Regions from separate parts of the Homo sapiens genome. Here all the other regions are linked to region 1. The links are contacts of gene promoters, found by promoter capture Hi-C in blood cells and fetal thymus (Javierre and others, 2016). All regions are on one chromosome and are shown on one strand. The core of a region is centred on a gene start or on the middle of the fragment in contact, and the rest is flanking DNA. Distances in the headings are between cores, read along the strand shown. Region 1 holds the start of SUGP1 (SURP and G-patch domain containing 1). Region 2 overlaps SUGP2 (SURP and G-patch domain containing 2). Region 3 overlaps ARMC6 (armadillo repeat containing 6). Region 4 holds the start of PBX4 (PBX homeobox 4).

Region 1 (3,315 bases), core at 816-3,315:
TTTGAGACAGGGTCTCGCTGAGTTGCCCAGGCAGGAGTGCAGTTGCATGATCGTAGCTCACTGCATCCTCAAACTCCTGGGCTCTAGAGATTCTCCCACCTCAGCCACCCGAGTGGCTAGGACTACAGGCACACTCTACCAGGCCTAGCTATTTTCTTTTATTTTTTGTAGAGACAGGTTCTTGCTATGTTCCCCAGGCTAATCTTGAACTCCTGTCCTCAAGGGAGCCTCCCATTTAAGCCTCCCAAAATGCTGAGATTTTAGGCATGGATCACCACACCTAGCCAATATCCACAGGGTCGTTTTATTTTCATCCTGGCTACTAGGTAATCATTCTGGCCAGAGAATCCACAGGCAACAAGACCAGGGAGGCTCACTGGCTCCAAGCAACAGACAATGATGTCTTCAGACTAGGGTGATAGTATGGAGACAGGGAAGACACCTCAGAGGTTCCCCATGGGACTCAGAATAAAATCCAAATTTTAAAAGTCTGAGCCGGGCATGGTGACTCACACCTGTAATCCCAGCACCTGGGAGGCTGAAGCAGGCAGATCACTTGAGGTCAGGAGATCGAGACCAGCCTGGCCAACATGGTGATACCCCGTCTCTACTAAAAATACACAAAAACACTGGCCAGGTGCGGTGGCCGGCGCCTGTAATCCCAGCTACTCAGGAGGCTGAGGCAGAAGAATGGCTTGAACCCGGGAGGTAGAGGTTGCAGTCAGCCGACATCGTGCCACTGCACTCCAGCCTGGGCGACAGAGCGAAACTCCGCTTCAACAAAAAGAAAAAAAGAATTCTAAAAGGCCATTTTCAAGGCCCCGCCAGATGGTTCCCCTCCCTTCTGCTTCATCCTTGACATTCTTCAAAAGGACAAGCCCATCCTACCAGGGCCTCTGCATTTACTGGCCCCCCTCTGTGTGGAAGGCTCCACCCTCCAGGGATTCCCATAGCTGGCATTCATTGTCTTAACTCAAATGTCCTCTGCTTGAAAAGGCCTTTCCCTGGGCCAGGTGTGGTGGCTCACACCTTTACGTAACCCCAGCACTTTAAGAGGCTGAGATGGGAGGATCGCTTGAGCCTAGGAATTCCAGACCTGCATGGGAAACGTGGCAACACAAAAAACACACAAATTCGCTGTGTGGTGGCGCGCATCTGTGGTCTCAGCTACTAGGGAGGCTGAGGTGGGAGGATCACCTGAACCCAGGGAGCCACAGTGAGCCACTGCACTACAGCCTGGGCGACAAAGTGAGACCCTGTCTCAAAAAAAAAAAAAAAAAAAAAAAGAAAGAAAGAAAGAAAAGGTCTTTCCTGACTACCCAATATCAGAAGCCTCCACTCTGATCATATCATACGTAACCTCACATCATACGTAAGTTTTTGTAAATATTTTCTCATTAATGCACTGACACCCCAGTAGAAAGCAACCTCCAGGAAGGCAGGGCCCTGTTTCGGTCACCGCTGCATGCGTAGCGCCCAGCACACTGCTTGGCACACAGTGAGCACGCCCTAAGTATCTGCTGATGGGTAAATGCATTCTATTCTGGGGAAGCAGAAAGGCCAAGGCTTGCAGCAAAGTGAGGGTCAAAAGACGCGGGAAAGTGTGTCAAGGGAGCCTCAAAGCACTTCGGAAAAGCAGCTTTTCCAGAAAGCGGGACACAGGCCAGAGGCCAGCTGCGACGAAAAGAGGGGTGCAGGGACAGCCCAAGGTTGTCGCCGTATTGGGGAACGGAGGTTGGAGCAGCCCTGAAGGCGGTTGTTTCGGAAACGGGACGCAGGGCCGAGCCGGGTGGCGGCCTCTACGGAGATCCGTGCGTCCTCAGCAAACCAAGCGGGGGCGGCCAGCAACCTGGGTCTGGGGTCTCGAGAAACCAAGAGGTGCAGAAGCCGACGCTGTGGGCTGCCCCGGGGCTGAAGCGAGGGATCCACGGGTCGCAGCAGGACGGACCCGAGGAGTCAGGGGAGACACCTAGCCCCAGGGACCCAGGCGGCCGCCTGAGAGGAGGCGGGGGCTGTTACCTGCAACATCCCGGTTGTCCATCTTGAGACTCATCCAATCCCACAATGCTCCGGCGCCCCTTAAGGGGCCCTGTTATAGTGTGCATCGCCTGATGGGAGATGTAGTCCGCCTCGGTCAGACTCGCCCTATTACTGCGTGAACGACTGGGTTTTTTTTTTTTTAACCTCCAGAAACGGAAGCCTCAGCCTATCAGCGATGCCTAAGTCCCAGTCACGATAACCAAACGGCGTCGCCCTTTTACACCTTCCCGGAGCGGCAGTCATCCCAAATACAAACTACATGTTCCAGGATGCTTTGGGCGGCAGATCTCGCGGAAGCCGCGAGGAGAGCCCGGCCCCGTCTCGCGCGCCTGCTTCCGCCTCCCTGTGGCGGCGGCTTGTTGTTGTGGAGGCCAAAATGGCGGCTCAGGCGGCGGCAGCGGCCCAGGCGGCGGCGGCCCAGGCTGCGCAGGCCGAGGCGGCCGACTCGTGGTACCTGGCGCTTCTGGGCTTCGCTGAGCACTTCCGCACTTCCAGCCCGCCCAAAATCCGCCTGTGCGTGCACTGCCTGCAGGCCGTGTTCCCCTTCAAGCCGCCGCAGCGCATCGAGGCCCGTACACACCTGCAGCTGGGCTCCGTTCTCTATCACCACACCAAGAACAGCGAGCAGGCGCGCAGCCACCTGGAGAAGGCGGTGAGCGCGGGCCGGGCCGCGAGGGAGGAGTCGCGGGCTCCTTGCAAGATCTGGGCTGACGGGTCGCGACCGCGGCGGGTGGGGGGCCGCTCCTCGGCGACCTGGGGGCGCGACCTCCGTCAAAGCCGCAGGACCCCCACCCGCCTCTGCCGGACCCCAAAGCCACCAGCCTCTCAAGGGACACGAAAGCCTCGCCCCCCACGCCTTATTTCCCGTTTCTGGTGACAGGGCTCCAGGAGCCCCGTCACCGTACTCTGAAAGTTGCCTGTTATTGGGAGCAACAGGATCCGCAAATCGTCTGGTTTTCAGGAGGATCCCACCTGTTGGTGGCGATGGGGACATCACAGGGTCCTGAAGCTATTAGCTCCTCCTGGTTCAGCTTCCGGAGCATCAGCCCCAAACGCTTCCACCTAAAGTGACTTGGGGTAGGGGTTGGCGAAGGCGAGACCCCTGGCATTCTCCCGGGAATCTGAAGTCTGGTCTCTCAGGAACCTGGAAGGGCATGATTCTCCTTGGACACAGAAGTTTGGTAATCGTGGTTTTTGGAGGGTCTTGTGCCCCCATCAATAATGCCTGGTGTCGTACGAGGGAAGCTGAGACCCGGAGTCTGGAGTTGGTCATTT
Region 2 (3,555 bases), core at 252-2,751, 290 kb before region 1:
ATTGATGATTGGTATTGATGGCATGATTAGGGAGGGAACATTAGTGACAGAGAGTGATGGCTGGATTCTACTCAAGAGAATTTTCTCATACCCTTTATGAGGAGATGAAAAGTTCAGAGTGGAGCAGAGAAACAGAGAAAGGCTAAACGATAGACTGCTTTGCAACACAGAAATGTTCCAGAATCACCTAGCATACTGCTAGGTTTCTAGTCCTCTCCCACCCACGGCCCCCTAATCTGTCTTTTTTTTTTGAGACGGAGTCTCGTTCTGTCACCCACGCTGGAGCGCAGTGGTGCGATCTCGGCTCACTGCAACCTCCACCTCCTGGGTTCAAGCTATTCTTCTGTCTCAGCCTCCTGGGTAGCTGGGATTATAGGGGCCTGCCACATTTTTGTATTTTTAGTAGACACGGGGTTTCACCATGTTGGCCAGACTGGTCTCAAACTCCTGACCTCAGGTGATCTGCCCACCTTGGCCTCCCAAAGTGCTGAGATTACATGTGTAAGCCACTGCACCTGGCCGTCTTTTTTTGAGACAGGGTCTCACTCTTTGGCCCAGGCTGGAGTATAATGGCACAAACACAGCTTACTGCAGCCTCGACTTCCTGGGCACAAGCGAACTTCCTGCCTCAGCCTCCCAAGTAGCCAGGGCCATAGGCGCATGCCACCATGCCCAGATAAATTTTTTTTTTTTTGAGACGGAGTCTTGCTCTGTCACCCAGGCTGGAGTGCAGTGGCACAACCTTGGCTCGCTGCAACCTCCGCCTCCTGGGTTCACGCCATTCTCCTGCCTCAGCCTCCTGAGTAGCTGGGACTACAGGCGCCCGCCACCACGCCCGGCTAATATTTTTAGTAGAGACAGGGTTTCACCGTGTTAGCCAGGATGGTCTCGATCTCCTGACCTTGTGATCCGCCCGCCTCGGCCTCCCAAAGTGCTAGGATTACAGGCTTGAGCCACTGCGCCCGGCCATTTTTTTTCTTTTTTTTTTTTTGAGATGGAGTCTCGCTCTGTCGCCCAGGCTGGAGTGCAGTAGCGCAATCTTGGCTCACTGCAGGCTCCACCTCCCGGGTTCACGGCATTATCCCGCCTCAGCCTCCCAAGTAGCTGGGACCACAGGCACCCACAACCACACCTGGCTAATTTTTTTTTTTTTTTGATTTTTAGTAAAGACGGGGTTTCACCATTCACAGGATGGTCTCGATCTCCTGACCTTGTGATCCTCCCAGCACTCTGGGAGGCCGAGGCGGGCAGATCACAAGGTCAGGAGTTCAAAACCAGCCTGACCAACATAGTGAAACCCCATCTTTACTAAAATAAATACAAAAAAATTAGCCGGGCATGGTGGCAGGCACCTGTAATCTCAGCTACTCGGGAGGCTGAGGCAGGAGAATCGCTTGAATCCAGGAGGCACAGGCCGCAGTGAGCCAAAATCACGTCACTGCACTCCAGCCTGGGCGACAGTACAAGACTCTGTCTCAAATAAAAAAAAAAAAGAACTAGTAGAGCTTAAACCTGGGCAGCGGTGACAGGGATGGAGCCAGGAAATGGATCCAAGAACCTGTCTTGGGGCTGGGAGCAGTGGCTCACGCCTGTAATCGCAACATGCTGAAGGCAGAGGTGGGAGGATCACTTGAGCCCAGGAGTTGCAGACCAGCCTGAAAACATAGCAAGACTCCATATCTATTAAAAAAAACAAAAAACAAAAAAAACAAAAACATAAAAAACACCAAAAAACAAAACTGGGCTGGGCTCGGTGGCTCATGCCTGTAATCCCAGCATCTTGGGAGGCCAAGGCAAGTGGATCACCTGAGGTCGGGAGTTCGAGACCAGCCTGGCCAACATGGTAAAACCTCATCTCTACTACAAATAGAAAAATTAGCTGGGCGTGGTGGTGCATGCCCGTAATCCCAGCTACTCAGGAGGCTGAGGCAGGAGAATCGCTTGAACCCAGGAGGCGGAGGTTGCAGTGAGCCAAGAGGCGGAGGTTGCAGTGAGCCAAGATCCCTCCATTGCCCTCCAGCCTGGGAGACAAGAGTGAAACTCCGTCTCAAAACAAACAAACAAACAAACAAACAATAAACAAAACTGTCTTGAGGTGGGTCGGGGAGGATATCCAGTGAGAAGCTCCAGATAACTACATAATGATGACTGACAGATCAAAACATTATCCCCTGACCAAGTGCAGTGGCTCATGCCTATAATCCCAGCACTCTGGGAGGCAGAGATGGAAGGATGGCTTGAGCCTAGGAGTTCAAGGGTGCAGTGAGCTAAAACTGCGCCACTGCACTTCAGCCTGGGGGAGAGAGTAAGACCCTATCACAAAAAAGAAACCAAACCAAAATAAAAACCTTTACCTCCTCCTAAATAAGGAAACTAAGGATCAGAGGACTGGTATTATTTGCCCAAGGTATTGTAATCTTCCTGCCTTGGCCCTAAGATACACCCCTACCAAAACAACAACTACAACAACAACACTTTATTTTACCTTGAGCTTTAAACTGAAGAGTTTCGCTTACAGCCTCACCACTGGCATCCATGTGATATCGTTTGGCTTTTTCTTGTAATACAGCATCAAAAGTCTCCTGTGTAATTCGTCTGGCTGCCATGTTATTTTGCCCTATGGTGAGAGAGAAAAAAATACACTAAGAGCAACAACTTGGAGCTGGGCGCGGTGGCTCATACCTGTAATCCTGGCACTTTGGGAGGTCGAGGTGGGCGGATCACCTGAGCTCAGGAGTTCGAGACCAGCCTAGGCAACATGATGAAACTAAAATACAAAAAATTCAGGCTGGGTGTGGTGGCTCACACCTGTAATCCCAGGACTTTGGGAGGCTGAGGTGAGCGGATCATTTAAAGTCAGGAGTTGGAGACCAGCCTGGCCAACATGGCAAAACCCTGTCTCTACTAAAAATACAAAAATTAGCCGGGCATGGTGGTGCCTGCCTTTAATCCCAGCTACTTGGGAGGCTGTGGCAAGAGAATTGCTTGAACCCAGGAGGCGGAGGTTGCAGTGGGCCGAGATCATGCCACTGCACTCCAGCATGGGTAACAGAGTGAGACTCCGTCTCAAAAAAAAAAAAAAAAAAATTTCACCAGGCATGGTGGCACGTGCCTGTAATCCCAAATACTCAGGAGGCTGAGGCATGGGAATTGCTTGAACCAGGGAGACAGAGGTTGCAGTGAGCCGAGATCATGCCACTGCCCTCCAGACTGGGGGACAGAGCGAGACTGTCTCAAAGAAAAAAAAAATGCGTGCTCACAGAACCTGCTCTATTTCACTTAATCCTCGAAGTAAGGAGGCAGTAATCCATAATCCTCGCATGGTACTTCAGAGGCAAGCTGGACCCTTTTTATTTATCTTTTTTTTTTTTTTTTTTAAGTAGAGACAGGGTTTTGCTAGGTTGGCCAGGCTGGTCTCGAACTCCTGACCTCAAGCAATCTGCCCACCTTGTCTGGACTCTTTTAAGGGGGTCTCTGCCCTCACGAAGTTCACAGGTGTGTGCTGGCTGAAAAGGAGCAAGACAAACCTTCTCTGGGCCCATCTCCTTGGAATCC
Region 3 (3,407 bases), core at 181-2,680, 270 kb before region 1:
ATGGCAGGATCTCGGCTCATTGCAACCTCCACCTCCCAGGTTCAAGTGATGCTCCTGTCTCAGCCTCCTGAGTAGCTGGGATTACAGGTACCTGCCACCATGCCTGGCTAATTTTAAATTTTATTTTTCATTAAGGAAGAGTGGAAATACATTCTTAGCATAAAGGATTCAAGCAATACTCAAGCATTTATAGTAAAATCTGAAAGTCCCTGCCTTGTCCCTCCCACCAGACACTGGGGTTTGCATCTCAGCGGTCAGTTCGCAACTGAACCAACCCCCTTCTCAAATGCCCTGCAGCATAATTGACCTTTGTGCATCTTGGCTTAGATGTGTAAAAAATGCTTATCTGTTGAGGGAGAAAAAAATTCAACATTGTGATGGTCGTTGAAATTAATCTGTTTGTGTCATAAGATTTGTTGCAAACAGGCTTGTAGAAACAGAAGGAAAATAATGTCTGGAGACTGTCCAGGGAAAAACTGAGCCAGCCAGGCCACATTTATATGTGGGAAGTTGTAGAATGAAAGGCATTAGTCACAGAGACTGAATGACTCCAGGAGTCAATGGGTAAAGCCCCCCTCCATGAGCAAGGTGGTGAGCGCCACAGAAAATTGTCATAGGTAGAACACAGCTGGCTCTGCCACCTGCATTTTAGCAACCATCTGTCAATGAAAATACTCTATAAAATATTTCAAGAGATTTATTCGGAACCAAATATGAGTGACCAAAGGCCCATGACACAGCCTCGGGAGCTCCTGAGAACATGTGTCCAAGGTGGTCGGGCTACAGCTTGGTTTTATACGTTTTAGGGAGACATGAGATATCAATCAATACATGTGAGACGTACATTGGTGTGGTCTGGAAAAGTAGGGCAGCTGAAAGCCGGGGCTTCCAGGTCATAGACACATTTAAAGATTTTTCTGGCCAGGTGCTGTGGCTCACGTCTGTAATTTCAGCATTTTGGGAGGCTGAGGTGGTCGGATTGCATCGAGCTGAGGAGTTTGGGACCAGCCTGGCCAACATGGCAAAACCCATCTCTACAAAAAATACAAAAATTAGGCCACGTGTGGTGGCTCACACCTGTAATCCCAGCACTTTGGGAGCCCAGGCAGGTGGATCACCTGAGGTCAGGTGTTCGAGACCAGCCTGGCCAACATGATGAAACCCCGTCTCTACTAAAAATACAAAAATTAACCGGGCATGGTGGCAGGTGCCTGTAACTCCAGCTACTCAGGAGGCTGAGGTAGGAGAATTGCTTGAACCCGGGAGGCAGAGGTTGCAGTGAGCCAAGATTGCACCATTGCACTCCAGCCTTGGTAACAAGAGCGAAATTGCATCTCAAAAAAACAAAAAACAAAAAACAAAAATTAGCTGGGCATGGTAGTGGGTGCTTATAATCCCAGCTACTTGGGAGGCTAAGGCGGGAGAATCACTTGAATCCAGGAGGCGGAGGTTGCAGTAAGCCGAGATCATGCCACTGTACTCCAGCCTGGGCAACAGAATGAGACTCAGAAAAAAAAAAAAAAGATTTTCTGATTGAAAGAGTTATCTAAAGACCTAGAATCAATAGAAAGGAATATTTTGCTTAAGACGGGTTGTGGAGATCAAGGGTTTATCAAGGAAGCCTCCAGGTAGCAGGCTTCAGAGAAAATAGATTGTAAATATTTCTTATCAGACTTAAAAAGGTGCCAGACTCTTAGTTAATTCTCTCCTGAATCAGGGAAAAGACCTGGAAAGGGAATCTCTGTAGAATGTAGCTTTTCCCCACAAGAGATAGCTTTGCAGGGCCATTTCAAAATATGTCAGAGAAATATATTTTAGGGTAAAATACTTTGATTTCTTTCCATACTGTATTAGTTAGGCTGGAACTTGGTGTCTTATTGCTACAAAAAAGTCTTACGATGATCAGTTATGTCTGACTTCCAAAGGCAGGAAGATAAAATGAGACATATTTGACCGCCACTTCCCATCATGACCTGAAGTAGTTTTTCAGGTTACCTTTGGAATACCTTTGGCCAAGAGGAGGGGTCCTTAGTATGGATGAGGACTTAGATTTTTTTTTTTTTTTTTTTTTGAGACAGGGTCTCCCCAGCTAGAGTGCAGTGGTGTGATCTTAGCTCACTGAAACCTCTGCTTCCCGGGCTCAAGCAATTCTTCAGCCTCAGCCTCCCATGTAGCTGACTACATGGTGTGAGCCACCAACATCTGGCTAATTTTTGTATTTTTTTTAGAGACAGGGTTTTACCACGTTGCCCAGGCTGGTCTTGAACTCCTGAGCTCAAAGCGATACACCTGCCTTGGCCTCCCAAAGTGAAGAGATTACAGGCATGAGCCACCATGCCCGGCCAAGAATTTTATTTTTAGTTTACACATCCTTGCTAACTTAGTAATTCCTTGTGAAATCTTGGTAGTTCTAACTCCAATACTGTGCATCCTCAAAGGCATTTCTGTCAGGAGCTTTTCAAGTTTCTTACAGGGTTTCTGCTGAAGTGCTACACCGCTGTTTGTTATGTAAAATGTGCATAAAAACATTTACCATTGTAACCATTTTTAAATGTAGAGTTCAGTGTCATTAAGTACATTCATAATGTTGTGCAACCATCATGACTATCCATGACTTGCGATACTGAAACAAACTCCATGTTCCTCTTCCCCTCAGCCTCTAGCAACCATCATTCTACCTTCTGTTGCTGCAAATTTGACTACTCCAGGACCTCATATAAATGGAATCACAGGCTGGCCACCCTGGCTTATGCCTGTAATCCCAGCATTTTGGGAGGCTGAGGTGGGCAGATCACTTTGAGGTCAGGAGTTAGAGACCAGCCTGGCCAACATGGTGAAACCCTGTCTCCACTAAAAATACAAAAATTATCCGGGCGTGGTGGCACATGCCTGTAGTCCCAGCTGCTCAGGAGGCTGAAGCGGGAGGATTGTTTGAACCCAGGAGGTGGAGGTTGCAGTGAGCTGAGATGGTACCACTCCACTCCAGCCTGGGTGACAGAGGAAGACTCCATCTAAAAAAAAAAATTTTTTTTAAATAAATGGAATCACAGTATTTGTCTTTTGGTGACTGTCTTATTTCACTTAGCGTAATGTCCTCAAGGTATATCCATAGCATACTATGTGCCTGAATTTCTTTGTTGTCATTGTAGTGTTTTTTTGTTTGTTTGTTTTTCTTTTTGGAGACAGAGTCTCTCTCTGTCGCCCAGGCTGGAGTGCAATGGCACGAGCTCAGCTCCCTGCAACCTCCAACCTCTTGGCTCTGATGAATCATGCTGCTATGAACATGGGTGTACAGGTATCTCTTTGAGACTGTGCTTTCAGTTCTCTTGAGTGTATCCCCAGAAGTGGAACTGATGGGTCACACAGTAATTCTGTTTGATTTTCTTTTTTGAGATGAATGCTCCGTA
Region 4 (3,554 bases), core at 707-3,206, 300 kb after region 1:
TGGAGTGCAGTGGTGTGATCTCGGCTCACTGCAGCCTCCGCCTCCCAGGTTCCAGTGATTCTCCTGCCTCAGCCTCCCAAGTAGTTGGGATTATAGGTGTGCACCACTACACCCAGCTAATTTTTGTATTTTTGGTAGAGACTGGGTTTCACCATGTTGGCCAGGCTGGTATTGAACTCCTGACCTCGTGATTCACCTGCCTTGGCCTCCCAAAGTGCTGGGATTACAGGCGTGAGCCACCGCACCTGGCCCCAGCCTTCCTTTAAACTCAACTCTTTCCCTCCCTGGCTAGGAACTTTCTCTTCCCAGCCAGACTCCGCTTTTTACATCCTCTTTCCCACCTCAGGGCCTCTGAAGGTGCTGTCCTCTCCAAAGATGTTCTTCTCCACCTGGCTTCCTATAGCATGCAACCCCTATCCCTACAGCTTTTATTGCCATTTATTTTATTTTTTTCTTTTCTCAGATTGGTACAGGATGGTCTCACTATGTTGCCCAGGCTGGTCTCAAACTGCTGGACTCAAGTGATCCTCCCACTGGGAGGCAGCTGGGATTACCTACCCATGCTACCATGCCTGGCTTATACTTTTTTGCTTTTGTTTGAGACAGGGTCTAGCTCTGTCACCCAGGCTGGAGTGCAATGGCTTGATTCGGCTCACTGCAGCCTCAGCCTCCTAAGTAGCTGGGACTACAGGCTTGCATCATCACACCTAACTAATTTTTTAATTTTATTTTTAGTAGAGACGAGGTCTTACTACATTGTCCAGGTTGGTCTCGAACTCCTGAGCTCAAGCAATCCTCCTGCCTCAGCCTCCTAAAGTGCTGTGATTAGAGATGTGAGCCACTCCACCCAGTCCTTATTTTTTGCTATTTACATTCCCTCCCCTAAATCATGTACTCGAGAGCAGGGACTATGTCAGCACCCGGTTCCCTATCCAGTTATTGTAAGGATTCAATAAAAATTTGCTGAATTCATTAAAAAGAAAATAGGTCTTCCATCTCCACCCACTCCTCTACTAACCCTTTTCCCAAAAGTTCTCGATGGTTCCCACACCAAGTTACCCCAGTTCAGTTCTTCAGTCTCCTGCAGACATTCCTGAGTCCCATTCCCAGCCACTCACTCTCCATCATCTGCCCTGGAAACTTCCCACCCACAGGCCGGGCTCGGTGGCTCGCGCCTGTAATCCCAGCACTTAGGGAGGCCGAGACGGAATGAGTGCTTGAACCCAGGAGTTTAAGCAACTATAGCGAGACCCCTGTCTCTACAAAATATACAAAAAAATCAGCCGGGCGTGGTTGCACGTGCGCCTGTGGTCCCAGCTACTCGGGAGGCTGAGGCAGGAGAATCAACTGAGCCGGGGAGGTGGATGCTGCAGTGAGCCATGATCACGCCACTGCACTCCAGCCTGGGCGACAGAGCAAGACCGTGTCAAACAACAACAAAAAAACTTCCAGCCGCAGGAGTCCCATTAACGTACCCATTTAGTCATTCACTCGTCAAAAGTCCCGTACGTGCCCATTTCTCAGCCCTACTCCCTAAACCCCTAAACCCAACCTTCTCGCCCCAAGATGAGCTGCTGAAAATCCTTCACGCCACTGCTCGGCCCCATAAGGCCTATCCAGCCCGTTCCGTTTGAACCCCATACATCCCTTCGTCCTCGGGACCCCCCTCCAGCCCTCCTCAAGCGCCCCTCGTCAGTCTGGCCTCCACGCCCCGTCCCCTCAGCCCGCCAACCTCACTGCCACGACCCTGCGTGGCCCCTGCCGAGCCCGCGGGCAGCACCTGGCCTGTGCCTCGTCCAGGCTCTGGTCGGTGATGGCCATGATCTGCTGCAGGACGTCGCTCGTGTCGAGGCGCCGCGGGGCGGGGGGCGATGGCGCGGGGCGCGGCGGGGCGGCCATGAGCGGCAGGGCCGGGCGGGCGCTGTGAGGGTGCCGTCGAGCCTGGAGCACTACCACTGGCGCCGCAGCCAACCGCCGCTGCCTGAGCGCCGCGCCCGCTCTCGCTCGCGCCTAAGCCACGCCCACCGCCGCTATCGCCAGCCAACCCGTGTATTGCACCGCCTACAGACACGCCCCTTCATCTCCGTCAGCCAACCGGCGCCACGCACCGCCCCCGGGACTCGCCCCGAACTTCCCCCTCTCCGGGCTTGGACTGGGTTTGGGGTTGCCGAGGCAACGGCACTTCTCATAAGCGCCCTCCTTCCCCTTGAGAGAGGGCAGCGCTGGCTCCGCTCCAGCCAGAGGCCCCCATCCCTCACATCTCGCGCGGTGCACGCCTCCTTCAGCCCCACTCGCATCTCCTCAGAGTTCCTGCTCCTCCTCAGGGCCCCCTTCTCCTCAAAGCCCTCGGTCCTCAGAGACCCTCACTCCCCAGAGCACCCCAACTCTTCCTCCAAGCCACCCCCTCCTCCTCAGAACCCCACACCTCTTATAGCTTGATCGACAGCCCCCATTCATTTCCAGAAGCCCCAAGCCCCAGACCCCTGCTCAGTCCCCCTAATGCTCCCTGCATCCTCAGCCCCATCAGGTGGGCCACTGGGGCCCCTGGCTCTTCCTCTAGAGCTTTCCACGCCCCGTTCACCTGGCTAAGGCGGGGCGCAGGCGTGCGTGGTTGATGGCAACGAGGAGGTCAGAACGCAGCGCTTTTCTCCACTGCAGAAATCAATTCCAGTCACCTTTCAAGGTCCAGCTGAAGAGTGACCTCGCTTGTTTATTCATCTTCGCAGATTACAGTTCTGGGCATAGAAAATGCTACCACGTGGTTACCGAATGAAGGAAGGATGTTTACTGAGAGACTCCCCTGCAGTGTACCCCAAATCAGAGCGAATCCTCACATCTTTGTTTCTAGTCCTTAGGACACAGCATCGAAGGCTCCTAGTGCACAAGAAAAGGAACTGGGCGGTGGCTCATGCCTGTAATCCTAGCACTTTGGGCGGCAGAGGCGGGAGGATCACTTGAGCACGGGAGTTTGAGACCAGCTTGGGCAACATAGTGAGACCCCGTGGTGGTGCACGCCTGTGGTCCCAGCTATTTGGGACTTGAGAGGCTGAAGTGGGAGGATCACTTGGGCCTGGGAATTTGAGGCTGCAGTGAGCCATGATTGCACCACTGCACTGCAGCCTGGTTGACGGAGACCAGGTCTCAAAAAAAAAAAAAAAAAAAAAAAGTAATGGCCTGGACATGAATCTCTTCTCCAAAGTCACAGAACCTCCTGGAGCCTATTTGCTATGAGGACAGTCTCCAGATGTGGGCTCAGTAAAAGGTCCTCAGCCTGCTGGCTGGGAGCCCTTCCAGGGTGGGGCCCACGTTCTCTCCATTGCTGCTGGGGAGGAAATTCAAACACCATCTGGTATGGCTGGATTGGAGAGCGTCGGGAGACTCCAAAGGGGACGGCAGGGAGTGAAAAATGAAAGACATTGACCGAGTGTCTGGACAATAGGGAAAGCTCTCTGATGAAGGAAACCGACACTTGGCTCCAATGACAGAAAGTAATAGATTGCATGGGAGCCACGGAGACCAGTGCCTGTTCAAAAGGTCACCCACAAGCACAGCAC

What was found. The method cuts DNA at HindIII sites, captures the fragments that hold promoters and counts their contacts. A CHiCAGO score of 5 or more calls a contact.
Region 2: a contact is called between a fragment that was not itself captured here and the fragment with the promoter of SUGP1 in region 1, in 1 of 17 cell types (M2 macrophages). The highest score is 5.8, in M2 macrophages.
Region 3: a contact is called between a fragment that was not itself captured here and the fragment with the promoter of SUGP1 in region 1, in 1 of 17 cell types (M1 macrophages). The highest score is 5.6, in M1 macrophages.
Region 4: the fragment with the promoter of PBX4 here is called in contact with the fragment with the promoter of SUGP1 in region 1 in 2 of 17 cell types (neutrophils and M1 macrophages); the score reaches 8.4 in neutrophils.

The regions. Positions count from the first base shown.
Region 1 is chr19:19,318,444-19,321,758 of GRCh38, forward strand. It overlaps SUGP1 (SURP and G-patch domain containing 1), which reads right to left and starts at 2,066. Exons shown (of 14, transcript NM_172231.4): 1 at 2,020-2,066. The coding sequence starts at 2,053. It overlaps MAU2 (MAU2 sister chromatid cohesion factor), which reads left to right and starts at 2,386. Exons shown (of 19, transcript NM_015329.4): 1 at 2,386-2,692. The coding sequence starts at 2,417. RefSeq lists enhancers at 1,934-1,983, 2,004-2,493, 2,202-3,173 and a silencer at 2,545-2,766. The HindIII fragment of the contact is 18,112 bases long and covers 1-3,315 here.
Region 2 is chr19:19,028,466-19,032,020 of GRCh38, forward strand. SUGP2 (SURP and G-patch domain containing 2) reads right to left here. Exons shown (of 11, transcript NM_001017392.5): 2 at 2,486-2,617. The coding sequence starts at 2,606. Among named protein-coding and RNA genes, the nearest start is that of SUGP2, 3.3 kb to the right of the region's middle. The HindIII fragment of the contact is 6,110 bases long and covers 1-3,555 here.
Region 3 is chr19:19,047,010-19,050,416 of GRCh38, forward strand. The region is part of intron 4 of ARMC6 (armadillo repeat containing 6); the gene reads left to right. Among named protein-coding and RNA genes, the nearest start is that of ARMC6, 15 kb to the left of the region's middle. The HindIII fragment of the contact is 8,485 bases long and covers 1-3,407 here.
Region 4 is chr19:19,616,731-19,620,284 of GRCh38, forward strand. PBX4 (PBX homeobox 4) reads right to left here and starts at 1,957. Exons shown (of 8, transcript NM_025245.3): 1 at 1,781-1,957. The coding sequence starts at 1,899. RefSeq lists a silencer at 1,739-1,948. The HindIII fragment of the contact is 7,939 bases long and covers 1-3,554 here.